7 separate regions of the Homo sapiens genome follow, and all the other regions are linked to region 1. Evidence: promoter capture Hi-C in 16 types of primary human blood cells and fetal thymus (Javierre and others, 2016). All regions are on one chromosome and are shown on one strand. Each heading gives the region's core, a stretch centred on a gene start or on the middle of the fragment in contact. The rest is flanking DNA. Distances are from core to core; before and after follow the strand shown.

Region 1 (2,651 bases), core at 90-2,589:
ACTATTATTCCAACAAGGACCTTTTATATTTTCCTGTGCCACCTAATGACACGACATCCACAAATTTCCTCTCCCAACCAGAAAGATTATAAAATGCTGTAACAGCGTAAACACTGACTTCAACACCCAGGAAACTGAAGGGTTTCTGTGACACTTAACAGAAACCTTCTCGATCTAAGCTATCACTCCTCCACAAACTTGGCTTTCAACTAATTTCAGTAATAGAACAGTTTCACCCAGACAGCTGTTCATCTGAATTTGACAGGCACAGGAAGCCTGGGCACAGTACCCACTTTAATGTAACAACTTAAATCAAAGCATTCCAAAACCATATGCAGACTTTTTAAAAAGGTTATTCTAAAAGACAGGATGGGCGGAGGCTCACGCCTGTAATCTCAGCACTTTGGGCGGCCCAGGCTTGAGCCCAGGAGTTCAAGACTAGCCTGGGCAACACAGCGAGATCTTTAAAAAATTAGTTGGGCGTAATAGCGCGTGCCTGTGGTCCCAGCTCCTCCCGAGGCTAAAGCGGGAGCTTCACTTGAGCCTAGGAGTTCGAGGCCGCAGTAAGCTATGACCTCGCCACTGCACTCCGGCCTGGGCGGACAGACTGAGACTCTGTCTCCAAAAATAAATAAAAATAAAAAATTAAAGACAGCATGGAGATGGTGGGAGTGTGACAGATGGACAACTACCAATACTCTGAAGAAAGACTTCCTCCTGAAAAGGGTATACCAACGTACACGGGATGAGGTGCGGCACAACCTACCAAGTTTACTGCTTACGATAATGAGTTAAACGGTAATGAAAACCGGAACGGTTGTTGCAGCCTCGGAAATTTTTCTTGCGAGTGGGTAACAACCAGAAAACCAAAGTCTAAGGGAAGCGGTCTGACAGGAGAGAAAACAAAACTTTCTGAGAGCCTGAGCCTCAGGGATTGGCTGACGGGGGCGGGCCGGGTGTTGCCAGACGCGAGACGCGGAAGAGGCTTGCGGTTGACCAAAGAAGACTGGGGGAGGAGACCCGGGACCCACGGTATTACCGTTCCCGCACAAGTGGCGTCACTTGTGGTGTGTCTGGGGTCAGGGAAGCGGCTAGGGGACGCCAGGGCCCATGGGAGCTGGTAACCAAAAATGCGATTCACTCACCTTTCCCATTCCGAGGCAGTGGTGAAGTCCGTGATCTCAAATACCTCGGATTCGGGCTGCGGGAAGGGGAAGGAGAGAAAAAGAAATTAAGCCCCAAGGCGAAGACATGAGGAACGAATTTAGATAGTGACAAGGATTAAGTAGGGAGCAAAGAAATCACCTCACTGTCGGCAGCCATCTTGAGGAGCGCCGGGCCTGGCGCTAAGGCTGCCGGGAAGAAGAGCGAAAGAGAACGGGGCGCGTCCCCGCCCCCGGAGCCCCCGCCCCCTGTTCATGAGTCTTGCCCTAGTAAGTAGGAGTGCTGCTTCTTCGCCCAGGTCTGTTAAGTCTTTAGTCCGCCCTCAGCTGGTTAATAAAACTCCGCTCTAGCTGGTTTCATAAAACTTGAAAATTTCCTGTGATGAATACAGAAAGGGAACAGAAGCCAAGGTGATAGGACAAGACCCTAAACTCATGTGGATAAGATTGTATTAAAAAACCTAAAGCATGTTGGGTTTGTTTTCATTCAACCCATATTTGTAGTTAGTACCAATTAGCTTACACTTTAACTATTGGGTTTCTTTTCATTCACCCTCTATTTATTGATTGTAAGGCAATAAACTAGGTGCTGTAATACCACTTCTACCCTCTGCCCCTGACCCTGCAAGAAGTTGCTCAGTTGATTGTCCTGAAATAAAATCATACTAGTTACCTGGTTTCTGGGAAGAGCAACATGGTGTTCAACAAACGCTTCATTTTTTTTTTTTTTTTTTTTTTTTTTTTTTTTTTTTTGAGACGGAGTCTTGCTCTGTCGCCCAGGCTGGAGTGCAGTGGCACGATCTTGGCTCACTGCAAGCTCCGCCTCCCGGGTTCACGCCATTCTCCTGCCTCAGCCTCCCGAGTAGCCGGGACCACAGGCGCTCGCCACCACGCCCGGCTAATTTTTTGTATTTTTAGTAGAGATGAGGTTTCATCGTGTTAGCCAGGATGGTCTCGATCTCCTGACCTCATGATCTGCCCACCTCGGTTCTGTCGCCAGGCTGGAGTGCAGTGGCGCGATTTCGGCTCACTGCAATCTCTGCCTCCTGGGTTCAAGTGATTCTCATGCCTCAGCCTCCCGAGTAGCTGGGATTACAGGCATGCGCCACAACACCCAGCTAATTTTTGTATTTTTGGTAGAGATGGGGTTTCACCATGTTGGCCAGGATGGTCCCGATCTCCTGACCTTGTGATCCGCCCCCCTCGGCCTCCCAAAGTGCTGGGATTACAGGTGTGAGCCACTGTGCCTGGCCTTGTCTTTATTTTAACACCTTCAAGTTATTTATATATATTCTGCATCTGAGCTTTATATTGTTTATATATGTAGCAAATACCTTCTCCCACTCTGCAGCTTGCTTTTTCACTATTTTTTTTTCAGACTGGTGCTCTAAAAAAGCAGACACTACAATTCCAAGCTGGCGAAGTCTCTGAAGTCCAACTGGAAGTGCTAGGGCAAAAATTATGCATCAGGAAATGCGTAGCCCCTTG
Region 2 (2,651 bases), core at 66-2,565, 930 kb before region 1:
ACAGGCAAGCAAGGACCATGGCTGTCTTCTCACTACTCCATGGGGGAGCCTCCAGAGAGAGCCTTTCACTTGCGCTGGGATCTATGTGCACCCCTTAACACTTTGTGCCAGACTAAGACACTACCAAGTCAGTTGAAACGACGGAGTGCAAACTCTGGCAGGGGAAACAGTATTAAACCAAATCTCCAAATTATTTTCAATTTCGATTCAAAACTCATGAATGATAGCTTTTTTAAAAAATCAGTTTTTTAAAAAAGCCTAACTTGGGGATATTCGCCCATTGGGCAACCAACACTATGCACTGTCCCTAACACTGCAACAGATCCAGGCAATCAATGCAATTGTATGCGTTTCTTGTTGTCGTTGCCACTGTATTTACACCTCACTTACACAGGGACTGGTAACCCATGCTGCCTTGGCAAGCCAACTGCACTCCTCTGTCCCAACAAGCAGGGCAATGGATTGCGAAGAGGCCTCCTCCGTCCCCAAGCAGCTACGTCGCCCAGGGGAAGAGAGAAGGCGGGAAAGTCCAAGAGAGGAGAAACCAAGGCCCGCGCTTAGGTGGGTGTTTTAGTGACGAGTCTGCGGTTACAGCCGAGCGGAGTTGAAAGGGCTGTTAGAAGAATGGAGCAGAAGTCGCAGTTGGGACGAAGCTGAAGAGAGCTGGCATTCGCCCAGGTCTACAGCCAGCCACCTGGTAACCCCTGCCCCCGCCCCCAGAGCCAATCCAGCGAAACTACCGCGAATTCCCGGGAATTCCCTCCAACTCCGGGAAAACTCCCGGAGGGGCGGGGCAAGAGTGGGAGGAGACCCTGCGCGCGGCCGCCAGCGCTCCGGGATCTCGAGATAGCCGCAGCTCTCGCGATCTTTCTGGAGCCGCACCTCCACGCGGAGTCCGAGCGCGTGTGCTGAGACCCCAGGGTCGGGAGGGCGGAGACTGGGAGGGAGGGAGAAGCCCCTTTGGCCTGCCTTACGGAAGCCTGCGAGGGAGGGTGGTGTCCACTGCCCAGTTCCGTGTCCCGATGCCCAGCGCCAGCGCCAGCCGCAAGAGTCAGGAGAAGCCGCGGGAGATCATGGACGCGGCGGAAGTGGGTTTCCTCCTTTCCTGGGCCTGGGAGGACAGACCCCTGGGCCGGGCTGCGCCGAGGGAGGGAGGAGGGGGAGTGGGGCCCTACAGGTCCTTGTCGGCACGTTCTCCGCAGGCTGCGGGCGTGGGGTCCGGGCGCCTAGAGCCCTTGCCCCAGCAGTGGGGCCAGACCCTCTCCGGACCGCGTTTCTTGCGGGGGTCACCTGGGAGTTTGGCCTACTAGAAGCGTGTCCCCGGGGTGGGGAGGACGGGAAGAACCAGCCGCCCCGGAAGTAGGAGCGCGGCGTCACACTTGAGTCTCTCTGGGTTAGGCACGTCCTGCACGTAATGCACAATCCCTGGGAAAATTTTAATAAGCACTAGTAATCGATATGTACTCAGCCCTCGTGTTCCTAATGCTTTAGCAAGTAATGACAGTACTTAGCAAAACCATCTGCCAATATGTTTAATGACCATTTCCCATGTGACAGCTTTAAAGAACACATGTCATTTTTATTTACTTTCTCCCTCTCAGTGACCCGGTAAGGTAGGTAATAGGAGTTACCGAGAATGCATTTGAGGTGAAGTGACCCCAAATCACGTGGATAATTCATAACACCCAGTGATCCTTCGGTGCTTTTCAGAAATCAAAGTTTGAAACCATCCTACAAGTTATGTGTGCTGTAGTACTGTTAAGCCTTAATTTCCGTCTGGCTCCCTAATTTTTCTATAAGGAGTTCTGAGTTTGTGGTAAGCAACATGAGAAGTAAGGTCATCTTAGAATACTAAATGAGGAAGAGTCACTGAAATATTAATAGTACTAATTATGAATGCAACTTTTTTGTCCTTCACACAATTTAATCTCCTTCTGTTGCCCTCAGGCTTCATTGTGTGACTGTATCTCTCTACTCTGGCCAGGGTTATCTTTTTCTTTAAATTGTTCAGTAAGCGCCTTAAACATGTCTGGTTTTATTTTGGTGTAAACACAAAATCCAGCACCCTCCTGCTCTAAAGGAGAGGATTCCAACAGGTAGCTGTAAAGTGACAGAAACTTAATTGTTTCATACAGATCTTAAGTTACCTTGTAAAAACTAGGGCAATTATTTTTGTGTACTCTTAATCTGCTTAATTACATAAACTATCAGTGTACCCTTACAGATAGTATAGGTCTAGATACAAGGTAGACATTGTGGCAGAGTTATGCCATTTTATAGCTAGAAGAATCTTAGATCATTTTAGAGGTAAAGTAAGATTGAAATAAAGGCCACTTATCTATTTAATAAGTATATTTTGTTAACAGATTGGACCCTAGGTCTTCTGTTTCCTGTTCCTAACTCTAATCTGTAACAAGAAATTTGATATTATTATATTGTCAGTGTCAAACTCCTGTAACCTGGTATCCTGAATCTGGTTTTTAGAAACAGGAAGCTGGTGAATTTTTTGATGATGTTTTACAAAAGGAAAGTTGTAGTTAGCTTATACCCAGCATCTCCAGTTTCTAAAAACTGTGGACATCTGGTGCTCAGAAAGCTTACCCAAAACGTTGGTTCTCTTTGAACATTTCTTCCTGTAATAGGAAGTTAAT
Region 3 (2,651 bases), core at 63-2,562, 830 kb before region 1:
CTGGGAGGATCTTAAGGGGGACATAAAAGCATTTTATGGTAGCTATAAAACAAGAGTAAATTTGTATGCAGCTTCATATTTCTTAATTTATAATATAATGTAAAGTATATTTAAAATGATAGGTTATTATGAATTGAGGAGTATATGAAAGTTAAAAGTGAGTGTATTAGCCAGGTTCTCCAGAGAGCAGAACTAATAGGAGGGGGGGGGGGGCAGATTTATTATGAGGAACTGGCTCATGCAATTAGGAGACTGGGAAATCCTATGAGCTGGCATCTGCAAGCTGGAAACCCAGGAAAGCTGGTAGGTAGTTCAGTCTCAACCTGAAGGGCTGAAAACCAGGGGAGACAACGGTGTAAATCTTATCTGAAGGCATACGATGAGACAAGATGTCCCAGTTCAGGCAGTAAGGCAGGGAAAAGAGGGCAAACTCCTCTTTCCTCTGTCTTTTGTTCCATTCAGGCCCTTAACTGACTGGATGGTGCCCACCCACACTGGGCAGGCCAATCTATTATACAGATTCTGTCTATTCAAATGCTAATCTCCTCCAGAAACCCCTCAAAGACACAAGCAGAAATAATATTTAATCTGGGCAGCCCATGACCCACTCAAGTTGGCACATAAAATTAACTCTGTGTGTGTGTGTGTGTGTGTGTGTGTGTGTGTGTGTGTGTGTGTATGGAATTCTGGTGTTCAGCTTTTGGAAAAACTAAGAATCATATAAAAATAACTAAAAATTGCCATTATTTGAACTTATTTTGTTAGACATCATAGTTGAACTTATTTTGTTAGATATCAAGATCAAACTTTGCTTATTTAAGTAATTAGGAAGAAAGTCATACTGCTAAAAACTGGTTAGCAGCTAGCATACATTTGTTGTTGTTGTTGTTAATAAGAAGTAGAACGGGCTGGGCACAATGGCTCATGCCTATAATCCCAGCACTTTGGGAGGCTGAGGCAAGAGTATAGCTTGAGCCCAGGAGTTTGAGACCAGTCTGGGCAACATGGTGAAACCCCATCTCTGCAAAAAATACAAAAATTAGCTGAGTATGGTGGTGCACACCTGTAGTCCCAGCTACTTGTGAGGCTGAGGTGGGAGGATCACCTGAGCCCAGGAGGTTAAGGCTGCAGTGAGCTGTGATTGTGCCACTGCACTCCAGCCTGGGTGACAGAGTGAGATGCTGTCTCAAAAAATTAAATAAATAAATAAAAAAGAAGTAAAATATACCAAATATTTTATAAGATGAGGGTTGACTGCATTGAAAGAAAATATTTCATAATATGAGAAATATCTTATTGAATATTGCACACCACCCACAACAAATCATGTAACTTTTTAATCTGCTGGTTTTATTTAGTGTAAGTTGAAGTGTCAGTGATTCTGGAAAATATTACAGTTATATTTAAAATAATAAGCATCACTAACCTGCACTGCTACAGCTGTTTGAAGGATGTTTCCTTCCCAGCTAAAAACATGTCTCAGGAAAAAGAACCCTTATGTTTTAGAAAATCATTCTGAAATATCTACAAATGAAAAGATACAATGTTTTGCTTCAAAATCATAAGGTAATGGTAAGAAACCGTATACTTTACCTCTGTGATCATCCTTCCCTAACCCATAATCACTGTCTAATCATGAGAAAAACGTTAGACAAATCCCAACTGAGAGACATTGGCATTAAAACTATGGAAAGTCTGAGAAGCTGTTACAAACCAGAAGAGTCTAAGAAGACATGACCACTAAGTGTAATGTGGCATCAGGATGAGATCTGGGAAGAGAAAAAGAACAGTAGGGAAAAACTGGTGAAATCTGAATAAATTGTGCAATATTAGTTAATACTAACATACTAAAGTTGGTTCCTGAGTTGTAATAAATGTATTATAAGAGTGTAAGATATTCACAGTAAAGGAAAATAGGCAAGGTGTATTTGAAAATTCTGTACTATCTTTTGCAACTTTTGGTAAATCCAAAGCTATTCTAAAATAATTTTTTAAAAAGAATCATGGATGGCTGGGCATGGTGTCTCACACCTGTAATCCCAGTACTTTGGGAGGATTGCCCAAACCCAGGAGTTCAAGACTGACCTGGGTGACATGAGGAAATCTTGTCTCTTCAAAAAATATAAAAATTAGCCAGGCATGGTGGTGCACATCGTGGGAGGCTGACGTGGGAGGATCACTTGAGCCCAGGAGGTCATGGCTGCAGTGAGCCATGATTGTGTCACTGCACTCCAGCCTGGGTGACACAGCAAGACCCTGTCTCAAAAAAAAAAAAAAAAAAGGCCCCAGTGTGGTGGCTCACACCTGTGATCCCAGCACTTTGGGAGGCCAAGGCAAGAGGATCGCTTGAGCCCAGGAGTTCGAGGCCAGCCTGGGCAACACAGCCAAACCTCGTCTCTACAAAAAATACAAAAATTAGCCAGGCGTGGTGGCATGTACCTACTTGGAAGGCTGAGGCAGGAGGATCGCTTGATCCCAAGAAGTCGAGGCTGCAATGAGCCGTGATTGTGTCACTGCACTCCCGCCTGAGTGACACAGCAAGACCCTGTCTTTAAAAAAAAAAAAAAAAAAATTTTAGACTTCCAGGTATTCAGCATAAATCACATTGTACAGTTTAGGTACAATGAGCCATCATTATCAAGGGATAGTGT
Region 4 (2,651 bases), core at 60-2,559, 810 kb before region 1:
CAGCCTAATTTTCTGCTTTAAGGAATGCCTTGTGTAACTTTGCATAGCACTTTGTTGATGGAGTTCAGAGAGTCGACAGTTCCACAGAAAAATGTTTCTTTTAATAGCACAGTGTTCTTTTTTAAGAAAATTGTTTTTCCTTCTTATTGGATTTATGAACTAAGCAGCTGTAAATTGCATTCAGCATCTTATTTAATCCACATGAATTCAGTTAACATATATTTATTCAGTGCTGGTCACTGTAGGTGATAGAAAAGTGTTATGAACCATTTCCTCAAACTCTTCACAGAACTATAAGAACTGGCATTAAAAAGGACTAGCAAATGTGGTAGGCCTTGGTGGACATAGTTCATTTATCAGGAGAGATCTTTGAGGGCTAAGGCATTGGGTAAGGTTTTGTGTAGGAAGTAGGACTCATGGACAAGTAAAGGCTCTTAGGATGGTGAGCACTGGCACGGTGACATCTGTGGTGTAGGAGAAAACATTGGAACAGTGGTTTAGGTGACTAAGTCCACAGAACAAGAACCAAGATCGGAAGCCAGGTGTTATTACTCCAGTTTTATGCTTTGCTTTAGCTGACTCTGCCTTTCGGTTGGTAAACATGCCTTTACTGTTTCTTCTGAAAGTGTTTAACTTCATGTTGAAAAATTAGTTTTTCATCTGTAGCTTCTTTTCATTTCAGGCAATGATGAAGTAAAACGGGGTGTCCTGCTGATGCTCTTTGGTGGCGTTCCAAAGACAACAGGAGAAGGGACCTCTCTTCGAGGGGACATAAATGTTTGCATTGTTGGTGACCCAAGTACAGCTAAGAGCCAATTTCTCAAGTAAGCGTTTGCCTGATACAGTGTTGCAGGAAAAAGTGTACATAGTTCCCAGGCTGGCTGTGCTACCAAGAATGCAGTCAGTATGGCCTTACTAGGAGTGTAAATTATGACTATGTTGAATATATAATTCTCATAGATTAAAGTTATGGCAACATTGTACAATTTTTTAGAATAGGGAAAAATTGCCTGTAATACCAATCTCACATTGAACTGTTTAGTCTTTGTATAATATCTTTGTAAAATATATTTGTATAAAATTTTATACAAATTTTATTATTTGTATAAAATTTTATACAAATTTTATTATTTGTATAAAATTTTATACAAATTTTATTATTTGTATAAAAATATGAATTATGTATTTTCATTATTGTAAATCATATTATACATACTTGTAATTTCAATTTTCTATAAACATTTTTTCCATGTTTCTTTTCGCATGGAAAAATCTCATGAGTTTGTCATTTTCACAATTGTCTTTTTTTGTTGGTATACTATAGCTTACAAAATCATTTTCTTAGCCCTGTTAAATTTAACAGGATAGTTTATTATAATAATTACCGATATAGATGCAGTGAACATCATAATGTTATATACATTTTTTGTTTGTTTCCTCTGGGTAAATTGCTAGATACAGGATTGTTGAGACTAAGAATACAAACATTTGTAAGGTTTTAAAATAGGATGTACTGGCCGGGTGCCATGGCTCACGCCTGTAATCCCAGCACTTTGGGAAATCAAGGCGGGCGGATCATGAGGTCAGGAGATGGAGACCATCCTGGCTAACACGGTGAAACCCCGTCTCTACTAAAAATACAAAAAATTAGCCAGGTGTGGTGGCGGGCGCCTGTATACAGTCCCAGCTACTTGGGAGGCTGAGGCAGGAGAATGGCGTGAACCCAGGAGGCGGAGCTTGCAGTGAGCCGAGATTGCGCCACTGCACTCCATCCTGGGCAACAGAGCAAGACTCCGTCTCAAAAAAAATAAAAATAAAATAGGATGTACTTTCCAAAGGGAATGCTGCTATGAGATATTTTATGTTAACTTTGTCAGTGTGAACACAATTTTTGACTGTTTTTAGAAGCTATAATAAATATTTGATTACTTTCAAACTTTTAAGAAACTTAGGGCCCAAAATAAAAGCAACAAGTTTCTGAGCACCTGCCATGTTCTCAGTGCTGTATATGTGTTATGTCTTACTCTAGCAGCACCCAGACAGGCATGTGTATTATTCCCTTTTTTTTTCAGAGAGTCACAACCTCTCCAAGCCTACAAGAAATTTGCCCACTTTCTTGTAGGTGAAAGGTGACACCGAGCCATGAATATTAAAATTCAGATACAGTTGCCTGCAAAACATGTGTACTTCATACTACATCAAGCTGCCTTTTCTTTGTTTTGGAAATTTGTAGCATAGTACCATTTTAGAATATTGAACATTTTTAGTTGGTTTGGAGTTTTATGATTAAATATTTCTTTTGAACATATCACAGACTGAGTTTTAGATTTTAAGATAGTAGTCCTGTGTTACAAAGGATTCTTTTTTTTTTCTTGTCATTCTTTCTCCCCCCTCAAAAAGAAAGATGTACTACAATGTTGCCTCTGGTAACAGTGTCATGTGGTATGTGACAGTCTTAGTGGATTCCATAGCATTTTCTATGTATAAAATCTGTATATAATGATAGTCGGAGTATCCCATCTGGCTGCCTTTTTTTCTTGCCTAATTGTCCTTGATTAGAGCCATCAGTATAATGTTGAATAGAAGTGGCAAGAGCAGACATCCATGTCTTATTCCTGATCTTAGGGGCAAAACATTCAGCCTTTCACCTT
Region 5 (2,651 bases), core at 85-2,584, 770 kb before region 1:
ATTGGCTCATAGCTAATCTTCTTTCACCTAACCTATAACTTCTATCTCCCAAACTAGATTTTTAATTAAAAAAAATTTTTTTTAGAGACAGGATCTTGCTCTGTCACCCAGGCTGGAGTGCAGTGGTGCAATCATAGCTCACTGCAGCCTTAAACTCCTGGGCTCAAGCGATCCTCCTGGCTCAGCCTCCCAAGTAGCTGGAACTACAGGCATGCACCACCACACCCAGCTAACCAAACTGGATTATTTTGAAGCAAATCCCAGACATCCATAGATGGTGGCCTCTTAACTAAGCTTCTTAAGTAGCACAGGCTCTGGATGTGAGCAGTGGCCTTGTTCCTGATCCTAACACCGTGCCTGGCTCTAAGAGGTGCCCTGTAAGCCTGTGATGAAAGAAGAGGTGAAGGTGGGGGTTGGTGGGGAGGGTAGACTATGTTATTGAAAATTGTAGATCTTTCTCCTTCAGAGTCTAGAGTTGACTCCTTTAATTAACTGAGATACTTAGAGGTCATTTCCAAAGCCAGAGTAAGTGCCACAGCTTCTCATCTTGAAACTCTGTCCCTGTTATCAAGATGCTTTCCAGGAGGCTTCAGTTCACTTGCTGGTCCTTCTCTTTTTCAGACCATTGAGCCAAAAGTGAAAGTTTTCATCTTCAACCTAAAACTCCCAGACTGCCCCTCCACCATGAAGAACCCAGCCAGTCTGCTCTTCAGCCTTTTTGAAGGTGAGTGGGCCATTGCTGAAGAGGTTTTGAGTGACATCTGGTGCACTGGTGTGCTAGGTAGCAGTCTTGAAAGTCCGGGGTTCCAATGGGAGGAGGAGCATGGGAGGAAGACTAGTATAAAAGCCCACCCCAGACTGGGTTAGTGTACTATGCCTTCCTACTGATGGTCCCTTGCAACCATCCCCCATTGACCCAAGAAAGAGGAGAGGTTCGACACAAGGATGCCTCTTATGGACATAAAGATAGTTAGGCCTCAGCTGTGAGTTGTAAGCATGGAAAATCATCTTTGCCTCCTTTTATTACCTCTCCCTCCAAGGTCTCTCATCTCTGCTCCTCTTGGCAGGGCTTTCCTCTGCCCGTCTCTCTCCAGCCAGCCCTCTCCACTTACCCTTGTTCCATGTCCCCATTATCTCAGTTTGCACATGGCCCTGGTGGGTACCTGACCAAGATGCTAAGAACTTTCAAGTGTAGGACTCACAGCTCAAGGGCCATCTTCCTAGTGTCTCTTAGTTCAAATTCTTGAAAGTGAATCTGATTGTTGGCCATGGATCAGGAGGCTGCTTCTGGTCCAATCAAGTCAGGGGAAAGGTGGGGTCTATGATAGCATTGAGGCTGGCAGTCACTGGAGACTCTGCAAGAAGGGAGGAAGGGGCAGAGAGGAATGTGCCTGAGGGCCCTGATATTCACTCTTGTCTGTCTGTCACTCTTGTCCATAGGCCAGAGTATGGGAGAAGTCAGTAGTGTTCTTTCTACCACTGTGTCTTAGTCTGTCTTGTGTTGCTATAATAGAATACTCTAGACTGCGTAATTTATAGAGAAAAAAGGTTTATTTAGCTCATGGTTCTGGGGACTGGGAAGTTCAAGATCAGGCAGCCACATCTGGTCAGCTTCTGGTGAGGGCCTCATGCTGCATCCTAACCTGGCAGAGAAGTGGAAGGGGAAGGAAGTGCCTGCAAACAGATAAAACACCAGAAGCAGCCTCACTTTATAACAACCACTGTATGGTAACTAATCCAGTCCCACTAGAATGGGAACTCACTCACTCCCTGGAGACTGCACTAATCCCTGAAGGCGGATCCCTCATGACCCAAATGCCTCTTAAAAGTCCATAACCTCTCAATAATGTTACACTGGCAATTAAATTTCAACATGAGTTTTTGTAGGGACAAACCACATCCAAACCATAGCACACCTGGACCCCATCCCAGCAATGGGTTGGCTCCACAGGGCCCCTGAAGTTTATCCATAGATACCATTTAATAATGCTTATCTGAACTCACCTTTGATGGCATAACAATTTCTGTTCTTAGATCCCACCTCTCTCTAAGTGGTTAAAATTGTACCTTTTCTGTTTATGCGTATTTTACCACAATTTTAAAAATATTCCACCCCTTTCTGATCTTTGAGTTCTTCTAAATCAATTGTTCCCAAAGTTGTGGTCCCCAGACCAGCAGCATCAACATTAGCATCACCTGGGAGCTCATTAGAAATGCATATTCTTGAGCCCTACTTGAGACCTACTGCATCAGACACTCTTGGGGTGGGACCAGCAACCTGTGTTTTAACAAGCTCTACAGATGATTTTGATTCACCTTGAAGTTTGAGAACCACTTTTAAGTAATAAGTAAGTAGAATTCACTTCTAAGCTTTTAAAGTCGTTAGCCCATGGTATTTTCCAAAGGGGCTTGGAACCACTGCTTGGAGTTTGGGTGTGTCGTATGAGCGAGGAAAACTGTTGATTTCAGACTTGCATGTTCTTAGTTGGCATTTACATAGAGTTAATTCAATTTCTTCTCTTACAGCCATAAATAAAGACCAAGTGCTCACCATTGGGTTTGATATTAATGAGTTTCTGAGTTGTTCATCAAGTTCCAAGAAAAGGTAATGTCAGGTTGCCTATTGAACTATCAATAACTGATATTTGTAG
Region 6 (2,651 bases), core at 89-2,588, 740 kb before region 1:
AGCAGCAGTGAAGGGGCTGAGGCCACATGGTGGAGGGCCTGGAAGCCAAGCACAGGGCCTTGGCTTTGGTGCCACAGGCCATTGCTGGCTTCTGAGCAGAAGCGTCAGGGACAGGAGGAGGCTGTGCTTTGGTTTTCTCCCATCATCTCAGAAACCCCAGGGAAGGAAGGTTCTTGATCCCTCAGGTTAATGGTAGCAGAAAGGTCAAGATGAAAGTGTCAGAGGCCTCAGCAGGGCATCTCTGGGCCACACCTAAACCAGAAGCCCCAGGTCTCCCTGTGGGCATGCGCATGCATTCAGGATCACCTGTACATGCTGCACACAAGTGTATTAGTCAGGTTCTACAGGAGAGGCTTTTCACTCAGAGTGCCTGGAAAATGCTCCATCTACAGGTTAAGAAGCCAAAGTTCCCAGGCTCACAAGTAATCTCAGCACTTTGGGAGGCTGAGGCAGGAGGATTGCTTGAGACCAGGAGTTCAAGACCAGCCTGGGCAATATAGTGAGACTTTGTCTTTACAAAAAATTTAAAAATTATCTAGGCATGGTGACGCACACCTATATTCCCAACTACTTGGGAGGCTGAGGTGAGAGGATTGCTTGAGCCCAGGAGACTGAGGTTGCAGTGAGCTATGATTGCACCACTGCACTCCAGCCTCAGGGGGCGTGCAGTGTCCTCAGGAGGACAGGGCGAGACCCTGTCTGGGAAAAAAAAAAGGAAGAAAGAAAACAAAGTTCAGTGAAATCGTGAGAACTGAGAAATTCAAACTCAAATACTCAATTTGCAAATTATTTCCCCTGCTACTTTGAAGATCTTGAAGCTATTATTATTATTATTATTATTATTATTATTATTAGAGTTGGAGAAAAGAGGCATGCCTAAACAAACCCCAAGAGGAGCAGAGAAACTTGGAAAGGGCAGAAAACGGAAATACAAATTACACAAGATACAGGGCCGGGTGTGGTGGCTCATGCCTGTAATCCCAACACTTTAGGAGGCTGAGGTGGGCGGATCACTTGAGGTCAGGAGTTCAAGACCAGCCTGGCCAACATGGTGAAACCCCATCTCTACCAAAAATATAAAAAATCAGCCAGGAGTTGTGGCAGGCGCTTGTAGTCCCAGCTACTTGGGAGGCTGAGGCAGGAGAATCACTTGAACCCAGGAGGCGGAGGTTGCAGTGAGCTGAGATCGCGCCACTGCACTCCAGCCTAGGTGACAGAGCCAGACTCAGCCACAAAAAAAAAAAATTATACAAGATCTAACTTTACAAACATAGGGGAAGAGTCTCAGATATGTACCTCAGGCATGCTCTTGATTTTGAAATCTGTCATAGATGCTAAATATCAGAATTTGCATATGTTGTTTGAAGGAAATTAAAAACTGTTTATGCATGTGTGTGTGTGTGTGTGTGTGTGCGCGCGCGCGCGTGGGTGCGTGTGTGTGTGGTCCTTCAGGTTTCAGAGGCTCTTGTAGAGACCTAGGGAAGCCAGGTTTATGGTCTGGCTGGAGGAGCCGCAGTGCTTCCTGCACCGCCTGAAGGACCTCTTCTCCTTCCCTGCCAGTTTCCCCTACTCACTGCCAAGTGCCTGGGGTTCGGAGAGCTCCCCCGCCCCAGCCCTATGACGTTCTCTTCTCAAAGCATGGCTCTCCCTGAAGCCCTGCCCTCAATGGCTTCTTCCACCCAGGCTGCCAGAATTTACAGAGAGTGAGAAGAGGAGGATCAACGGCACCTATGACTTTTTTGGGTTCAATCACTACACCACTGTCCTCGCCTACAACCTCAACTATGCCACTGCCATCTCTTCTTTTGATGCAGACAGGTAAGTCCACCAACAGGGAGCCCGGAGCCATCTCTGGAAAAGGCAGAAAGGTGCCCTTGGCTGTGCTCTCTGAGGCCTGCCCAGCCTCAAAACAGGGCCTCCAACGCCGAATGTGCCGGGGTTTGCAAGATGCTCGCCACCCCACAGATCCCAAGGAAATCTCCAGCAAGCAAGAGGGAGAGAAGGCCGGGGTCTCCAGGGCACCTCCCATTAGGGCACATGTGCTTGGCTTTTTGTTTTTTTATTTCATTTTTAAAATTTATTTATTTTGCGTTCTTTTTCACAGGCTGCTTAACTCTAAAAATGCTTGGTTGTTAAAAAGGATTTTCAAGAAAAAAATTGTTTAGGTTTTATCAAAATTCGCTTTAATATTAATAAATATTACAATAATACAAGAGTAAAATTTTATTTTCTCTTTTTAAACAATGCTTTTATGAAGTAGAGATAGTAAAAGATTTTGGTTCACCTTTTAAGTAACAGTTTTTATTTTATTTATTTTTTTTGAGACAGAGTCTCGCTCTGTCACCAGGCTGGAGTGCAGTGGCACAATCTTGGCTCACTGCAACCTCCACCACCCGGGTTCCAGTGATTCCCCTGCCTCAGCCTCCAAGTAGCTGGGATTACAGGCGCGTACCTCCACGCCTGGCTAATTTTTTTTTTTTTTTTTTTGTATTTTAGCAGAGACGGGGTTTCATCATGTTGGCCAGAATGGTCTCGGCTAATTTTGTGTTTTTAGTAGAGACAGGGTTTCTCCATGTTGGTCAGGCTGGTCTCTATCTCCTGACCTCAGATGATCCCCTTGCCTTGGCCTCCCAAAGTGCTGGGATTACAGG
Region 7 (2,651 bases), core at 96-2,595, 720 kb before region 1:
TCCCTCCTCCAGACCCTGGCAACCACTAATCTACTATCTCTACGGATTTGTCTATTTTGGGCATGTTGTGTAATAGAATCATACAGTATGTGACCTTTGTAACTTGCTTTTTTCATGGAAATTGTATTTTCAAGGTTCATCCATGTTGTTGCAGGTATCAGTTCTTATTCCTATTGCTGAAAAACATTGTTGTATGAGATACAGTTTACACATTCTTCAGTTGCTGGACATTTGGGTTATTACCACATTTTAGCTATTTTGACTAATGCTGCTATACTCATGTACAGGTTTTTGTGTTGACGTTTTCAATTCTCTTGGATATAAACTGCTGTATAAACTGCTGCTGTAGAACTCCTGGGTCCTATGATAACACTATGTTTAACATTTTGCGTTACTGGCAAACTGTTTTCCAAGGTGGCTACATCATTTTACAATCCCACCAGTAACACAGAAAGGTTCCAAATTCTCCACATCCTCACAAACACTTATTACTTTCTCTTTACATTTAGGCATACTTAGTGGGTGTGAAATGGTATCTCATTGTGGTTCTGACTTGATTTCCCTAATGACTAATGATGTTGAACATCTTTTCATGTGCTTACTGGCCATTTGTTTATCTTCTTTGGAGAAATGTCTATTCAAATCCTTTCCACATATTTGAACTGGGTGTCTTTATAATTGAGTCACAGGTTCTTTTTATATTCTAGACACAAGTCTCTCATCAAATATATGATTTGCAAATATTTTCTCCAATTCTATGGGTTGTTCTTTGCATTTTTTTTTTTTTTTGAGACAGAGTCCCACTCTGTCGCCCAGGCTGGAGTGCAGTGGCGCAATCTCGGTTCACTACAACCTCCGCCTCCCTGGTTCAAGCGATTCTCATGCTTCAGCCTCCTGAGTAGCTGGGATTACTGGTGTGCACCACCATGCCTAGTTAATTTTTGTATTTTTAGTAGGGACGGTTTTTTGCCACGTTGGCGAGGCTGGTTTTGAACTCCTGGCCGTAAGTGATCCGCCTGCCTCAGTCTTCCAAAGTGCTGGGATTATAGGTGTGAGCTACCATGCCCAGCTTCTTTGCACTTTCTTGATGATATCCTTCAAAGCACGAAAGTTTTAAATTTTGGAAGTGCGATTTACCTATTTTTAAATTTTGTTCCTGTGCTTTTAGTGCCATGTCTAACAATCCATTGGCTACTCCTAGATCACAAAAATATATTCCTCTTTTTTCCTCTAAGAATATATATTTTATAGTTTTACTTTTTGGTAGATGATCCATTAAGTTAATTTTGTACATGGTGTGAGGTAAAGGTCCAAATTCATTATTTTGCATGTAGATATTCAGTTGTCCAAGCACCTTTTGTTGAAAAGATTCTTCTTTCCCACTGAATAGTCTTGGTACCCTTTTCAAAAATAAACAGTTCATAAATGTAAGGGTTTATTTCTAGAGACTCCATTCTATTACAATGACCTGTATGTTCATCTTATACCATTACATCACTGTATAGCTTTGCAGTAAGTTTGAAAATCAGGAAGTATGAGTCATCTATCTTCATTTTCCAGTTTGTTTTAACTATTGTGTTTCTTGCATTTCCATATGAATTTTAGGTTTATAATTTATGGAAAAAAGCCAGCTGGAATTTTGATAGGAGTGTTGAATCTATAGATCAGTTAGATCAGTTTAGGGAGGATTATCATCTTAACAATGTTAAGTATTCTTATCCATGAACATAGGATACTTTCCAGGTATTTAGGTCTTAAATCTTTCAACAATGTTTTGTCATTTTTAGCACACAAATCTTACATTTTTGTTAAATTTATTACTTCATTATTTTTGGAAAATTATTTTTAAAAATTTTTCTGATTACAAAATACTACTTGTTAACTGTCCAATATGGAAATATGAAAAGGCACAGAGAAGACAATAAGTATTAACCATAATCCAATTAGCAAGGTGTACTAGAAATCTAAACTTTTTTTGTCTTTTCAACATATTTTTGTTTTGGGAACTGCCTTCTTACCCTGCTATGTGTCATTCGTTCTGGTATAATTATCAATAACATTTCCCCCACCTCCTTCACCACAAGATTGGGCATGTCACCTCCTCCAACCAGAGGGCCCACACATGTGGACACTGACTACTCTGAAGGTGGCCACATGATCCAAACAGGGGCAGTCAGAATTCTCAGTGACTGATACAGGCATGAGAGAGAAAAGGTTAATCTCTTCTGTCTGGGATCGTGAATTCAAGGTCCTGAAAGTGCCAGGAGGTGCTGGGCTCTCCTGACACCATTTGGAGAGTTTCTCTAAGAATGAAGCTAAAACAGAAGAAACCAAGAATTAAAAAGAGAGAGAGAAATTGTAATGGTATCCTTTAGATTGCTGGACACAGCTATGCCTAACCAAATTCACCCTTGGATTTCTGAACTGCAGAGCCAATGTATTTCCTCTTTTGCTTAATCCTATCGGATAGGGGATTCTGAAAAATAAAGAATCCTAATACGTATGAGATAAACATTATATTCATTTGGTTACAAATCATTTCTGTCTTTGGAAAACAGGTATTTATTGGGCCCTCTTTTTTTTTTTTTTTTTTTTTGGGGACGGAGTCTCGCTCTGTCGCCCAGGCTGGAGTGCAGTGGCGCAATCTCGGC

The links. The method cuts DNA at HindIII sites, captures the fragments that hold promoters and counts their contacts. A CHiCAGO score of 5 or more calls a contact.
Region 2: the fragment with the promoter of DARS1-AS1 here is called in contact with the fragment with the promoter of RAB3GAP1 in region 1 in 1 of 17 cell types (naive CD8 T cells); the score reaches 5.9 in naive CD8 T cells.
Region 3: a fragment that was not itself captured here is called in contact with the fragment with the promoter of RAB3GAP1 in region 1 in 1 of 17 cell types (monocytes); the score reaches 5.3 in monocytes.
Region 4: a contact is called between a fragment that was not itself captured here and the fragment with the promoter of RAB3GAP1 in region 1, in 4 of 17 cell types (total CD4 T cells, naive CD4 T cells, erythroblasts and 1 more). The highest score is 6.3, in total CD4 T cells.
Region 5: a fragment that was not itself captured here is called in contact with the fragment with the promoter of RAB3GAP1 in region 1 in 2 of 17 cell types (total CD8 T cells and naive CD8 T cells); the score reaches 6.2 in total CD8 T cells.
Region 6: a fragment that was not itself captured here is called in contact with the fragment with the promoter of RAB3GAP1 in region 1 in 2 of 17 cell types (monocytes and naive CD8 T cells); the score reaches 7.2 in monocytes.
Region 7: a contact is called between a fragment that was not itself captured here and the fragment with the promoter of RAB3GAP1 in region 1, in 10 of 17 cell types (naive CD8 T cells, total CD4 T cells, fetal thymus and 7 more). The highest score is 7.9, in naive CD8 T cells.

What each region holds. Positions count from the first base shown.
Region 1 is chr2:135,050,980-135,053,630 of GRCh38, reverse strand. It overlaps RAB3GAP1 (RAB3 GTPase activating protein catalytic subunit 1), which reads right to left and starts at 1,339. Exons shown (of 24, transcript NM_012233.3): 1 at 1,306-1,339; 2 at 1,146-1,201. The coding sequence starts at 1,323. RefSeq lists an enhancer at 627-766. The HindIII fragment of the contact is 10,130 bases long and covers 1-2,651 here.
Region 2 is chr2:135,983,840-135,986,490 of GRCh38, reverse strand. DARS1-AS1 (DARS1 antisense RNA 1) reads right to left here and starts at 1,315. Exons shown (of 4, transcript NR_110199.1): 1 at 975-1,315. DARS1 (aspartyl-tRNA synthetase 1) reads left to right here and starts at 865. Exons shown (of 16, transcript NM_001349.4): 1 at 865-1,088. The coding sequence starts at 1,023. RefSeq lists an enhancer at 1,019-1,118 and a silencer at 1,169-1,228. The HindIII fragment of the contact is 7,953 bases long and covers 1-2,598 here.
Region 3 is chr2:135,879,903-135,882,553 of GRCh38, reverse strand. No RefSeq gene overlaps it. Among named protein-coding and RNA genes, the nearest start is that of MCM6, 4.8 kb to the right of the region's middle. The HindIII fragment of the contact is 3,748 bases long and covers 1-2,651 here.
Region 4 is chr2:135,860,780-135,863,430 of GRCh38, reverse strand. MCM6 (minichromosome maintenance complex component 6) reads left to right here. Exons shown (of 17, transcript NM_005915.6): 8 at 683-824. Among named protein-coding and RNA genes, the nearest start is that of MCM6, 14 kb to the left of the region's middle. The HindIII fragment of the contact is 8,903 bases long and covers 1-2,651 here.
Region 5 is chr2:135,821,974-135,824,624 of GRCh38, reverse strand. LCT (lactase) reads left to right here. Exons shown (of 17, transcript NM_002299.4): 4 at 622-724; 5 at 2,527-2,605. It overlaps LCT-AS1 (LCT antisense RNA 1), which reads right to left. Exons shown (of 2, transcript NR_045486.1): 2 at 1,538-2,651. Among named protein-coding and RNA genes, the nearest start is that of LCT-AS1, 3.1 kb to the right of the region's middle. The HindIII fragment of the contact is 2,076 bases long and covers 297-2,372 here.
Region 6 is chr2:135,793,808-135,796,458 of GRCh38, reverse strand. It overlaps LCT (lactase), which reads left to right. Exons shown (of 17, transcript NM_002299.4): 14 at 1,684-1,818. Among named protein-coding and RNA genes, the nearest start is that of LCT-AS1, 25 kb to the left of the region's middle. The HindIII fragment of the contact is 5,560 bases long and covers 1-2,651 here.
Region 7 is chr2:135,772,983-135,775,633 of GRCh38, reverse strand. The region is part of intron 9 of UBXN4 (UBX domain protein 4); the gene reads right to left. Among named protein-coding and RNA genes, the nearest start is that of UBXN4, 32 kb to the right of the region's middle. The HindIII fragment of the contact is 6,305 bases long and covers 1-2,651 here.